Linked DNA regions of Homo sapiens: region 1 is linked to region 2. The links are contacts of gene promoters, found by promoter capture Hi-C in human tissues and cell types (Jung and others, 2019). All regions are on one chromosome and are shown on one strand. Each heading gives the region's core, a stretch centred on a gene start or on the middle of the fragment in contact. The rest is flanking DNA. Distances are from core to core; before and after follow the strand shown. Region 1 overlaps EXD3 (exonuclease 3'-5' domain containing 3). Region 2 holds the start of NRARP (NOTCH regulated ankyrin repeat protein).

The links. Contacts are between HindIII fragments. The study calls those that stand out against the background at their distance.
Region 1: a fragment that was not itself captured here is called in contact with the fragment with the promoter of NRARP in region 2 in 3 of the 25 tissues and cell types used here (dorsolateral prefrontal cortex, pancreas and spleen).

The regions. Positions count from the first base shown.
Region 1 is chr9:137,365,105-137,370,334 of GRCh38, forward strand. It overlaps EXD3 (exonuclease 3'-5' domain containing 3), which reads right to left. Exons shown (of 22, transcript NM_017820.5): 6 at 2,832-2,885; 7 at 1,389-1,528. Among named protein-coding and RNA genes, the nearest start is that of EXD3, 55 kb to the right of the region's middle. RefSeq lists an enhancer at 3,134-3,735 and silencers at 4,439-4,639, 5,121-5,230. The HindIII fragment of the contact is 6,555 bases long and covers 1-5,230 here.
Region 2 is chr9:137,300,391-137,305,617 of GRCh38, forward strand. It overlaps NRARP (NOTCH regulated ankyrin repeat protein), which reads right to left and starts at 1,881. Exons shown (of 1, transcript NM_001004354.3): 1 at 1-1,881. The coding sequence starts at 1,538. The coding sequence ends at 1,194. RefSeq lists silencers at 739-788, 909-968, 1,039-1,118, 1,801-2,440 and an enhancer at 1,180-2,098. The HindIII fragment of the contact is 30,312 bases long and covers 1-5,227 here.

The sequences.
Region 1 (5,230 bases), core at 1,378-3,877, 65 kb after region 2:
TGGCAACCGACTATGTGCTCACCTGTGCCTGGCCTGACGCTGTGCGGCTGCTGCCTGCTCCCTCTGATGAAAAGTCTTAGCAAGCTTTGAGTCAGGTGGACTCAGCCCCATTGTGCGAATGAGGAAACAAACTCAGAAAGTGGAAGTGACTTGGAGGACAAGTGGAGGAGGATGGGCCCGGGACGGCCTGACGTCCAAGTCCAAGCCTGTGACTCTCCAGTGAGACAACCCTGGGGCTGTGTGGGGAATGGAGGCCGGGATCTGCCTGCCAGTGGATGGGCCCTGGAGCCTTCACAGACCTTTCAGCTTGCTTCACTCTCGGGGCACCTTGACCAGATATAGAGCAGGAAGCCCCTCCCCTCCCAGATGTCATCCCTCATATCTCACACACACACACATGCACACCTGCAGGCACACACACGTACACACACATGCATGCACACACAGACCTGCACAAACATGAACACAGTGCACACACAGGTACACACGCACACACATGCACACACACGCACACCTGCAGGCACACACACGTGCACACACATACATGTACACACACCACACGCACACACATGCACAGGCACACATGCACACACGTACACACCCATGCACACACACATACAAACACACACCTACAGGCACACACATACATGCACACACACACCACATGCACGAAAACACACGTACACCTGCAGGCACACACATGTACACATCATATGCACGCAGACATACACACCTGCACAAACGAACACAATGCACACACAGATATACATGCACACACACACACCTGCAGGCACACACATACATGCACACACATGCACACCTACAGGCACACACAAACGTGCACACACGCACATATCACGTGCACACACAGAGACACACACATGCACACCTGCAGGCACACATGCACATGGGCACACACATACATGCACACACATGCACACACATGCACATGGCTTCCCTGAATCCATACAGGCACCATATGGGCTCCTTGTCAGGTGCTGCCTTTTCTCTGTAATTGCTGACAGACGTCACACACCAAGTGCTTCCAAAAACTTTATTAGATGAAAGAACAAAGGAATGGATGAACAAGAAAGCAGTACGGTTGCCATGCCTGCATGAGAAGAGCCACCACGGAGAATTATTTTCGTTCTTCTAAGAGCAGTTAACTCTTTTCACTCGGGAGAAGAGGGCTGTGCTCCTGCCAGCCCCAGCCGCTCCTCTCCAGAGGCAGCTGCTCCAGCTGCAGTCACATGGCAGCTGTGACCCAAACACCAGAACTTCCTGGGGAGAGCTCTCCCACGCGCCTGCTGCCCCCCTACACTCCCTTCCCTAACCAGGGCTCCCAGGATGCCATCTGGTGCCAGCTGCCAGCGCCCCACGGGACTCACCTGGCAACGTCCTTGATGTCAAAGCCGGGCTGGCACCAGGAATCCATGAGGACCAGCAGCCTCCTCTGGAGGTCCGGGAAGCCGGCCACATAGCGCTCCACGAGGGCCACCTTGTCCTGGAGGAGCAGTGGGATGCTCATCTGCAGGGGGACACACGGTCAGGCCACAGCCTCCGCCACCTCAGCCAAAACCTGACTCACCTCCAACCCAGAGGGAGCGGCCAAAGTGTCAGAACGAAAGGGGCCCAGAGGCCGTCCAGGCCCAGCAGTGCTCGCCCGGCCAGTGCTCACGCTCACACACACTCGCCCAAGGCTCCTGCTGGGCTCTGTGGCCATCCCCATCTCCATGATGAAGGCCTGGAGGCCCTAAGAGGCAAGGGGGACCCTGGGGAAGCTCATTTGTCACCAAATGTGGGGAGGCAGGACCAAGACAAACCACTGGCAGTAGCCCTGGTAGTCCGGAAATGCCTTCTCGTGGCACATGGTACCAGCACTGCCTCCCGAGCAGGTCTGCAAGACCCACACGCTGTCGGTGCCTCCAAGAGGCCCTGAGGGAGTCCCTGGCTGTGGCGCTGGGCCTTGGGGCACACCAGCCATTCCCTCAGCAAGAACGAATTCCCGTAGACAACGCCCCTCGAAGAAGACTCCTCACCTCCCTTCCCCCACCTCCTCTGCCCCACAGGTGAGGCTGCCTGGCGCCGACTGCATGGGGCCCACCTGCCCAGCAGTGCCTTGGGGGACAGTCCTCGGGCAGAACGCGAAGCCCCAAGAGCCCTCTCTGGCCCCAGCTCTTGTAGACCTGGAGTCTGCACCCATCGCCCGGAGCACAGCCCTGCAGGCTGTGTAGACACCCCTCCCTCTTTAGGGAGACCAGGATGCGTCCCGTCCCCACCTGGCTCTGCCCGAGGGGTGCTCACTCCCCCACCCTGCCCCTGCTTAACCAGCAGGTTCCCCTTGTGTCCCTGTGATGTGCACGAAGTCCCATTGTAGAAGCTTGGATCTGCCATCCCTGCAGACACTGTGGGTTCGAGGACTGTGTCATCTGTCCGGAAATTCACAGTTAGGTGACTGCTTCCCCCAGCCCACTGCACGGTGGAGGCGTGCAGCAGAGGAGGGTCCCAGAAGCACATGGGCTGCGTGTCCTCGAGGCAGCTGGTGCCCACTCCAGGGAAGGGGTGGCCCCAGCTGCTGCACGGAGCACACTCAGGGCTTCAGGGGACAGCTGGACACGGGGTTCGTGTACGTGCGGCTGCGTCTGATTTGGGGTCAGCCCATGAGGAGGATGGTGGTTTAGGGGGCTCTGGAGGCCCTCGCCGGCCCCCGATGGCCCTGCTGTCCCCCACTGTGGCTTGGTGGACTCCCGACCTCCAACAAACACTGTTTATAGAGACCTGGGCGTTATCCAAGTTTGAACCTAAACAATTTACATGAGAAAGACGTTCACCTTTTCAACGCCAAGCTCCGACTGCAGCTTCAACGTCGCGCCCAGCGTGGCTGCCTGGCAAACACAAAGGCGGCAGATTACTCAGGGCCTGGGAGGGGCCAGGCAGCACGGCGGGTGAGGGGGCTACCACCCTTTTGCACCAGCACCTGGTCACTGAGGCCGGAGTGCAGGGCCTTCCCGTGTTCAGCCACGTGGCCCTCAGGCCGAGGGGCCTGGCCTGGCAGACAAGCCCCCCCGTGCTGAGCCAGGCCTTGCATAGGCTGGGACAGGTGGGAGGCCTGGGCTTGGCCTGGATGGGGCAGCAGGGACTCAAGGGGGTGGCTGGCCACACAGCCTGGGTCCCAGGGCCTTGCTCGGGGATTGCTGATGAGCCAGAGGAAGGCTAGGAGGTGGGGTCAAGGCAAGGCGCAAAGCCGTGACCTCCCACACGACCCATCTGCGGGCCCCAGAACACAATGGTGCCTGCAGTGGACGGGCCAAGGCTGAGGACCCCCAGCCTCAGCGCATCCTGAGGCCTGGGGGGTCCTAGCCCTTCCCACGAGGCGGAGACGGGCACCCCGCGAGCGCTCCAAGGCCACACTGGCTGCGATCGGGGCACGGCCGGGCCCTGACCGCCTGCACGTACCACGGGCCTGAGCTGCTATTAATAATTTCCATAAGCCGCGCTCCCATAGCCAGCAAAAATGACCCACGAGAGCAGCCCGCGGAGCATCGGCGCCCCGCCCCCGCGCAGCCCAGAGAAAGGACCAAAATAGCGGCCTGGGAAAGCCTCGAGCCGGCTTCCAGCCCCGGTGCGCAGGGTGGGGGCGCAGGGCCGGGGGCCTTTCCCTGCGCAGCGCTGACCCGGCGCCTCTACTGTCTGGCCAGGGTCCAAGAGGCTAGGCCTCCACCAGGCCCATGGGGCGCAGGGCCCGGGGCGGGGGTCTCAGGGCCGTGGGGAGGGGCGAAGGTCCGGGGCGGGGCCCCAGGGCTGTGGGCAGGGGCGCCTGGCCCGGGAAGGGAGTCTCAGGCCCGTGAGGAGGGGCACAGGGCCGGGGGACGGGGTGCAGTGCCCGGGGCGGGGTGGGGGGGCTTCTCAGAGCCGTGTGGGGAGGGGCGCAGGGTCAGGGGAAGGGACGCAGGACCCGGGGAGGGGGTCTCAGGGCCGTGGGGAGGGGCGCAGGGCCCGGGGCGTGGGAGTCTCGGAGTCGTGGGGAGGGGCGCAGGGCCGGGGCGGGGCCTCAGGGCCGTGGGAAGGGGCGCAGGGCCGGGGAGGGGCACGGGGCCACCACATGGGGAGGGGCGCAGGGCCTGGGAGGTGGGCTTACGGCTGTGAGCATGGGCGCAGGGGCCACCACATGGGGACCACCCCAGCAGTGACACCCGCAGCTTCACACAAGGGCTCTGATCCCTTCTGGATCAGGGACCCCCTGAGAAGCTGCCAGAGCTCCGGAAGGCAGGGGTGCAGGGCCGGACACCTCACCCCGTTCAGAACCGCAGGGTGGTCACAACCCGCCCGCCCTCTGCTCCTCCTGCCGCATGTGGTTATTGTCAGGTGCAGGGAAGTGGAGGATGGGGCTGCGCCCGGCACCTCCTTGGGACCAGGCCCTGAGCAGGTGACGCTGGGACCAGGGAGGCTGGGGACACAGCAAGGGGCAGGTGGCCAGGGCCTTCCCTCACCGCTGCTGTCCCCAGCCTCCCTCCGAGGGACAGACTTCAGGCTCCAGTCCCAGCCCTCGGCGGGCCCCACCCAACCAGGAACCCCTCTGAGCCCAAGAAGGCCGCCTCAGGCTTGCAGAGGAGCCTGGGTGGGGCTGGGTACTGGCCGTGCTCCCCAGGTGGGTGGCTTCTGCCTCTGTGTCCCGCACGCTGCGACCCCGTCAGAGGCAGTTCAAAGTGCCCAGCTCAGCCCTTCTCTTCACCACGGCCATTCAGAGCCCAGGGCTAACAGGTGTCTGGACCTTTCTTTCTAGGCCCACAGAAGCTCTCTGGGCACCCGGGGCCTCTTGAGGCCAGGTGGGCTTTCTGGACATGCAGGCGTCCTGGGGCCCCCAGCATCTGTGTCCACATTTTGTACCCGGAGCCCAGTGGGGGCTCTGTGGCCTCGCAGCTTGGGGGACAGGACGAGGATGGAGCTCCCCTAGCTCCACCCTGGTAAGGGCAGAGCCCAGGCTTGCTCATGGGCAGCCCTGGTGACAGGGGTGGGGGGCTGGGGGGTGGCTAGTAGCAGACCCACCCCTTCCAGGAAGCTCCCTGGCCTGACCCCTGTCTCAGGCTTTGGGGGCCCTGCTGGCCCTTTCACTGTGGTGGTGCCTGGCTTAGAATCAGCGTCTGGTCATTTCTGTCTGAACTTCCCTGAGAGGACGGTGTACAGCTGCCCACTGTCCATGCCTGGCCACTTGGGAAACTCAGCAGGCACA
Region 2 (5,227 bases), core at 631-3,130:
CTCTGTTGCCTTCACAACGCTGGATACATCGCCCTTTAAAATTGGGTTTATAACCAAGATTCAAAAAATACACCTAAAACTTGGCTTAAAATATGTTAATATTTTATATTCTGTCATAAATGTTATGACATTTAATTGTGGCAAATCCATTTACTTTTTTTAAAAAAGTGTGCAACCGTTAACTATGATAGAACGCACTAGAAAAGGTAACGAACCTTCACCCACCCCCCCGTGTCCCCGCCACCCTCGAGCGCCAGCGAGCTTCCAGGATCCTGGGGAAACTGCAAAACAAGCCGGTTTGGGGGATGGTGGCCTCATCCAGGAGGGGCGGGGGAGAGAGGCCCTGGGGCTTCCAAAACTCACGGATTTGAGGGAGAGGGAGAAGGAGGGAGGGGGAACAGAACGGGGTGGGGAGGTAGACGCGGGGAGAAGGGAAGGGGGAGGGACAGCACGGGAACACCATCAGGCTGGGCGGTATTTTCAGTGCAACCAAGAAATGGTAGACTCAAGTTTTTAGTTTTAAGACTAGAAAAAAATGCATCACTCCCCCCCATAACCACATTGACCACGCAGTGTTTTCCAAACAAAAAAACCAGGCGCACAAACTCCACCCACAAATGTACACACACAAGATAAATAGTTTAGAACACCAGCAACAGCGAACAGCCGAGCGTCTCCTCGGCCGCGCGCCAGCGGCGCGGACCTCGGACCTCGGGGCTGCTCCTCGGCTGCAGCCGGCATCGGCGCGTCCCGGGCCTGCGGGCGGGTCCTGAAGGCGGCGGCGGAGCGCTCCGAGTCCGCCTTCGGCTCCCGCCGCCCGCCTTTCACCTTCGGGAGAAAACATTTTGCGCAGAGGATCCGGTATCTCGGGATTCCGAACTTGCTGGTTGCGAGACTCAAATTTCAAAAGGGGCTGGAGCCCGCGCCCCGCCCCCACCCGCGAGGCGGCGGGCAGGCGAGCGGGTGGGGGCCGTGGGAAGCTGCTCCGGCCCGGCCGGGCCCGGCTAGGCCGCAGGGAGGCGCTCGGCCGGCGGGGCTGCCGGACCCTGGGGCCGGGACGCACGCGCCGTATTCGCCGTGGCCACGGGCCTTCTGGCGGGGCCTGCGAGCCGGGCGCGCACCGAGGTAGTTGGCGGGAAGGTACAGCAGAGACGACGCGGGCGCAGGGCCGGGGTCCGGGGTCCCGGCGGGCATCACCGGCCGCTGGCCGCGTACTTCGCCTTGGTGATGAGATAGAGCACGATGTCCTGGTGGCCACCGAACGCGGCGATGTGCAGCGCGCTCCAGCCGTCGCGGTTGGCCAGGCGGATGTCGGCGCCGAACTTGACCAGCAGCTTCACGAGCTCCAGGTTGCCGTCGATGACCGACTGGTGCAGCGCCGTCTGGCCCTCGGGCCCGAACGAGTTCACGTTGAACTCGCAGTTGGTCATGTTCTGCAGCAGCGACTGCAGCTCCTGCGTGTTGCCCTTGCGCACAGCCTCCTGGAAGATGCGCTGCGTCTGCGGCGCGGAGCAGGTGGACAGCTCGGCCTGGCTCATGCTGCCGCCGGGCGCGGGCCGCGGGCCGGGCCGGGGCTCAGCGCGGGCGGCGGCTGCGGCGCGGGCCCCCGGCTGTCTCGGGGCGCGCCTCGGCGCATGGAGGGCGCGGCGTCCCCGGGCCCCGCACGCCGCCTCTGGGCGCTCCGGGCGCTCGGGGCCGGGGGTCGCCGCCGCGGGGACCCCGCCGCATCCAGCCGCGCCCGGGTGGGCGACGGGGGCGCGCGCTCGGCTCGCGGGGGCCGGGCCCGGCCGGGGACGGCGGCGCCGCGCGGTCCCGGTCCCTACTCGGTTCGGCTGCGGCTCCCACGCGGTCCCAAGGCGCCTCCCCACGCGCCGCAGCACTAGCTCGCCCGCCGCGCCGGGGCGCCTTTTACCTTCTTTATATTTGCATAACAATGGCAGCCCGTGACGCGCGCGCCGGCGGCCCCGGGATTGGGCCGCGCCCACATGGGGGCGGGGCGTGGGCGGTGCCGTGCGCAGGGGTCCGGGGGCGGGTCCCGGCGGCGGCGCGCTTCGCGGCAGGGGGCGCTGGTCGCCGGCAGCGCCTGGGCGGGGGAGGCCAGGTGGCCGCCGGGGGGGTCCAGCTCCGTCGCCGCCGCCGTCCGCGCGCCCCCCGGGCGCTCCGCGTCTCTTTGCGGTCGTCCCGCCCCTTCTCCCTCCGGCCACCCGGGGAATTCCAAGCTCCCTCAGCAGCCAGACCCAGGCCTTGCCCGGTACCCGAGCGCGACCGCCAGGTGGCCCCGAGGGCGGCCTCTCCCGGGCAGGGGGTTCGCGGGCATCTCAGGCCCGTGGCGAAGGAGAGACCCCTCTGAGCGGAGAGGCGCGCGGCGACCCCGGCCAGCCCGCGCCTCCGGGCTCACCGTCCACGCGGGTGGCAACTCCAGGCCCTGACGTGGGGCCTTCAGCCACGCGGGTCCTTCCCGCGCGCGGGCAGCCTCATGGCCGCCGGCTCAGCCTATGTGTGCCCCAACCGTACTGATGCGAGGGGCCTCCGGCCGGCCACCGCGGCTTCTATCGCCTGGCGGTGAAGGGGGTTCCGCTGTCCTCTCGGGAGGAAGCCCCGGGCCGGGGCGCAGCGGGAGGGTCGGGACCGCGGCCTGCCTCCCTCTGCTGCCCACGCACCAGCATGCGGGACACATAGGTCCTGCCCAGGTGAGCAGGGCTAGGTGTGGCGCCAGGGCCAGAAGGGAATTCTGAAACGCCTGGCTTCCAAACTGTAAAACCCATTTTTATTGACCACTCTAACAATTGACCGGGAGGCACTAGCAGGGGAAGCACAGCGCATTTCCTCATTAGAGTTTTACAGTTTACAACTCGCTGTGGTCGTTGGAAATTAAGGAGGAGTGATTCTCAGGCGCGGAGCAGGAGGCCAGGCAGGCTGGGGCTTGAATTCCTTCTGAAGCCAAGCCGGGAATTCCGCGCAGGCAGCTCTGAGCTCGGGCTGGGGAGACCCCCATGCCAGGCCTTGTCTGAGGAGGCTTCCGCCCACCAGCTCCATGTCCCCACATCCGGCTCCCCACAGGGGTGTGTCCCCACCCCATGCTGTGCCCATACTGGCAGGAAAAACTGGGCAGGCTCCCTTCGGGACAGACCCTGGCTGACCGGAGCAGGGTCCTGAGGCCCTGGGGTCCTCCTGGTGGGCTGGGAACCTCTGTCCCTCAAAGGCACAGCTCAGAGCTCGCTCTGGTCTTCCTGGGGCCGTGATCCCGCTGGTTCTGTTCAGCTCTCTCCTTTGGGCCTCACTGCTTCTCCCAGGAGCTCTCAAGGGGGCCACGGAGGGTGGAGGGGTGCTCCCCAATATGCAGGTGAGGACACAGTGGAGTCCCGGAGTAGGCCCCCAGCAGAACAGAGATGGGCGCTGTGGAGCCCAGGCCCGGGGCAGGGATGGCATGGCCTGGCCTGCCGTGCTCTGCTGGGCACCTTTGGCCTCTTAAGGAGGGGGAGCCGCTGGGCTGCCTGCTGGTCCCTGGTGCTGGCTGTGTCTCTGGACCTCAGACCAGGGCTGGGTGTGCAGGGTGCTCTGAGCTCACTGTCAGGAGGGCAGGAGCTCTGTCCTGGGCATTGATGGATTTTGTGCATATGCCCAGGGCCCAGCCAGGCTAGACTGGCAAGAGGCAGAGGGCATGACTGGGGGGTGGGCAGAGCCCTTGGTGCTCAACAGGCACAGGGCCTCCCCTGGAGGGTGGGTGGTTTGCAAACAGGCCGAAGCCCAGGTGGGCTCAAGCCGGGCCTGGAGAAGGCATTTGGCTATGCTGTGGGCCAGGAGCAGGGCCTGGGAGAAAGTGCCGTCGGCATCCGTGGCGGCGGCAAACAAAGGGGCCCTGTGTGAGCTCGGTGTGGGAACGCGGGGCCCCGCCACGGGCGTGAAATCGGCAGCGGCCCCTGGCGAGGGCCAGGCGGTGCGGGCGCCCCGGCAGGCACAGTGAGGCTGGTGTGGCGGCCCTGCAGGGCGGGAACCTACCCCCTGCCCGGGGTCCAGAGCGGGGTCAGGCAGAGGTGGTGGGGCCTGCCACGGCAGTGTGGCTGTGGCCCAAGGCAGGTACCCAGGCTCATCTGTGGGACTCAGAGGCTGGCCACACCACACTGCCCACAGGGAGTTCGCTGAGTGGCCCTGGCTCCTGCTCCTCCACCGTGGCTCCCAGCTCCCCTGGGCACACCCACGGCCCTGAAGCTGCTCCATTTGAGGATGGGAAGGGGGGAGGGGCCGGGGGGGCAACAGCTCTGAGTCAGCACTTCCCGAATGTTTGCTGAGGGACATCCAAAAGGTGGACATCTGTTCCAAATGCTGGGACACGGGGGTCCACCTCCAGCCACCCAGTACTTGTGCTCGAGAGGACCCCCTGGTGTTTGCCGGTGTTGCTTGGAGCCTTCTGCTGTCTGGGAGGCCCTGCCCTGGGACCTGGCAACAGGCTCAGCTCCGACTGTGCAGCTGGGCCCTGTCCTTCCTCCCCTGCCTGTCCTGAGGATGCTGGCCCCGGGGGTGCCCTGCCTGTAACCCACCTGCCCCCAGAAGGCAATGGTGGGGCCCCTTCTCTTTGCATGCACCCCCTTTCCTTCCTTCCCTGGAGGCTCAGAGCAGTGGGCAACATGGGGAGGGAGGTCTGTGCGGGGTGGCCGGCCCGCCTGGGAGGGCCCAGGGAGGACAGCGCAGAAGGGGCAGCTGGCCAGAGCTGGGCCGAGGCCTGCGGCCACCTTAAAGGCGCTAAGCAGGGAGGGAGGGTGGCGGGCAGTGGGGGCGGGGCTTCCAGCTAATTCATTAAAATGTGTCGGGAGCGTGGGAAAGAGGAGAGTGTTTCTTCCCAGCAGCCCAGACACCTGGTAGAAGGGCTGAGAGGATCGAGATCAAATAACAAACACTCAGCCCGGGCCAGCACAGGCCGCGGCGGAGGAAGGACGCCCGGGCAGGAACTGCCGCAGACAATCCCTGCAACCGGTGGCTCCTGCCCGCCGGGATGGCTGCTCAAGGCATGGCCTGGCACTGGCAGCCTCGGCCACCCGGTCAGCCTGGTGTCTGTCCCCTAGCCCAGGAAGCAGCCTGATGGGTGCTGACCCCAGTGACCGAGGCGTGCTTCCAGCACCTGGACCAGGATGGGAACTGGGCAGAGAGCCTCACCCCCACCAAAGCCTGGGCCTGGGATGGACGCCGCAGAGCCAGGCCGAGCCTATGCTGGGTAGTGAGGGACGTGTGG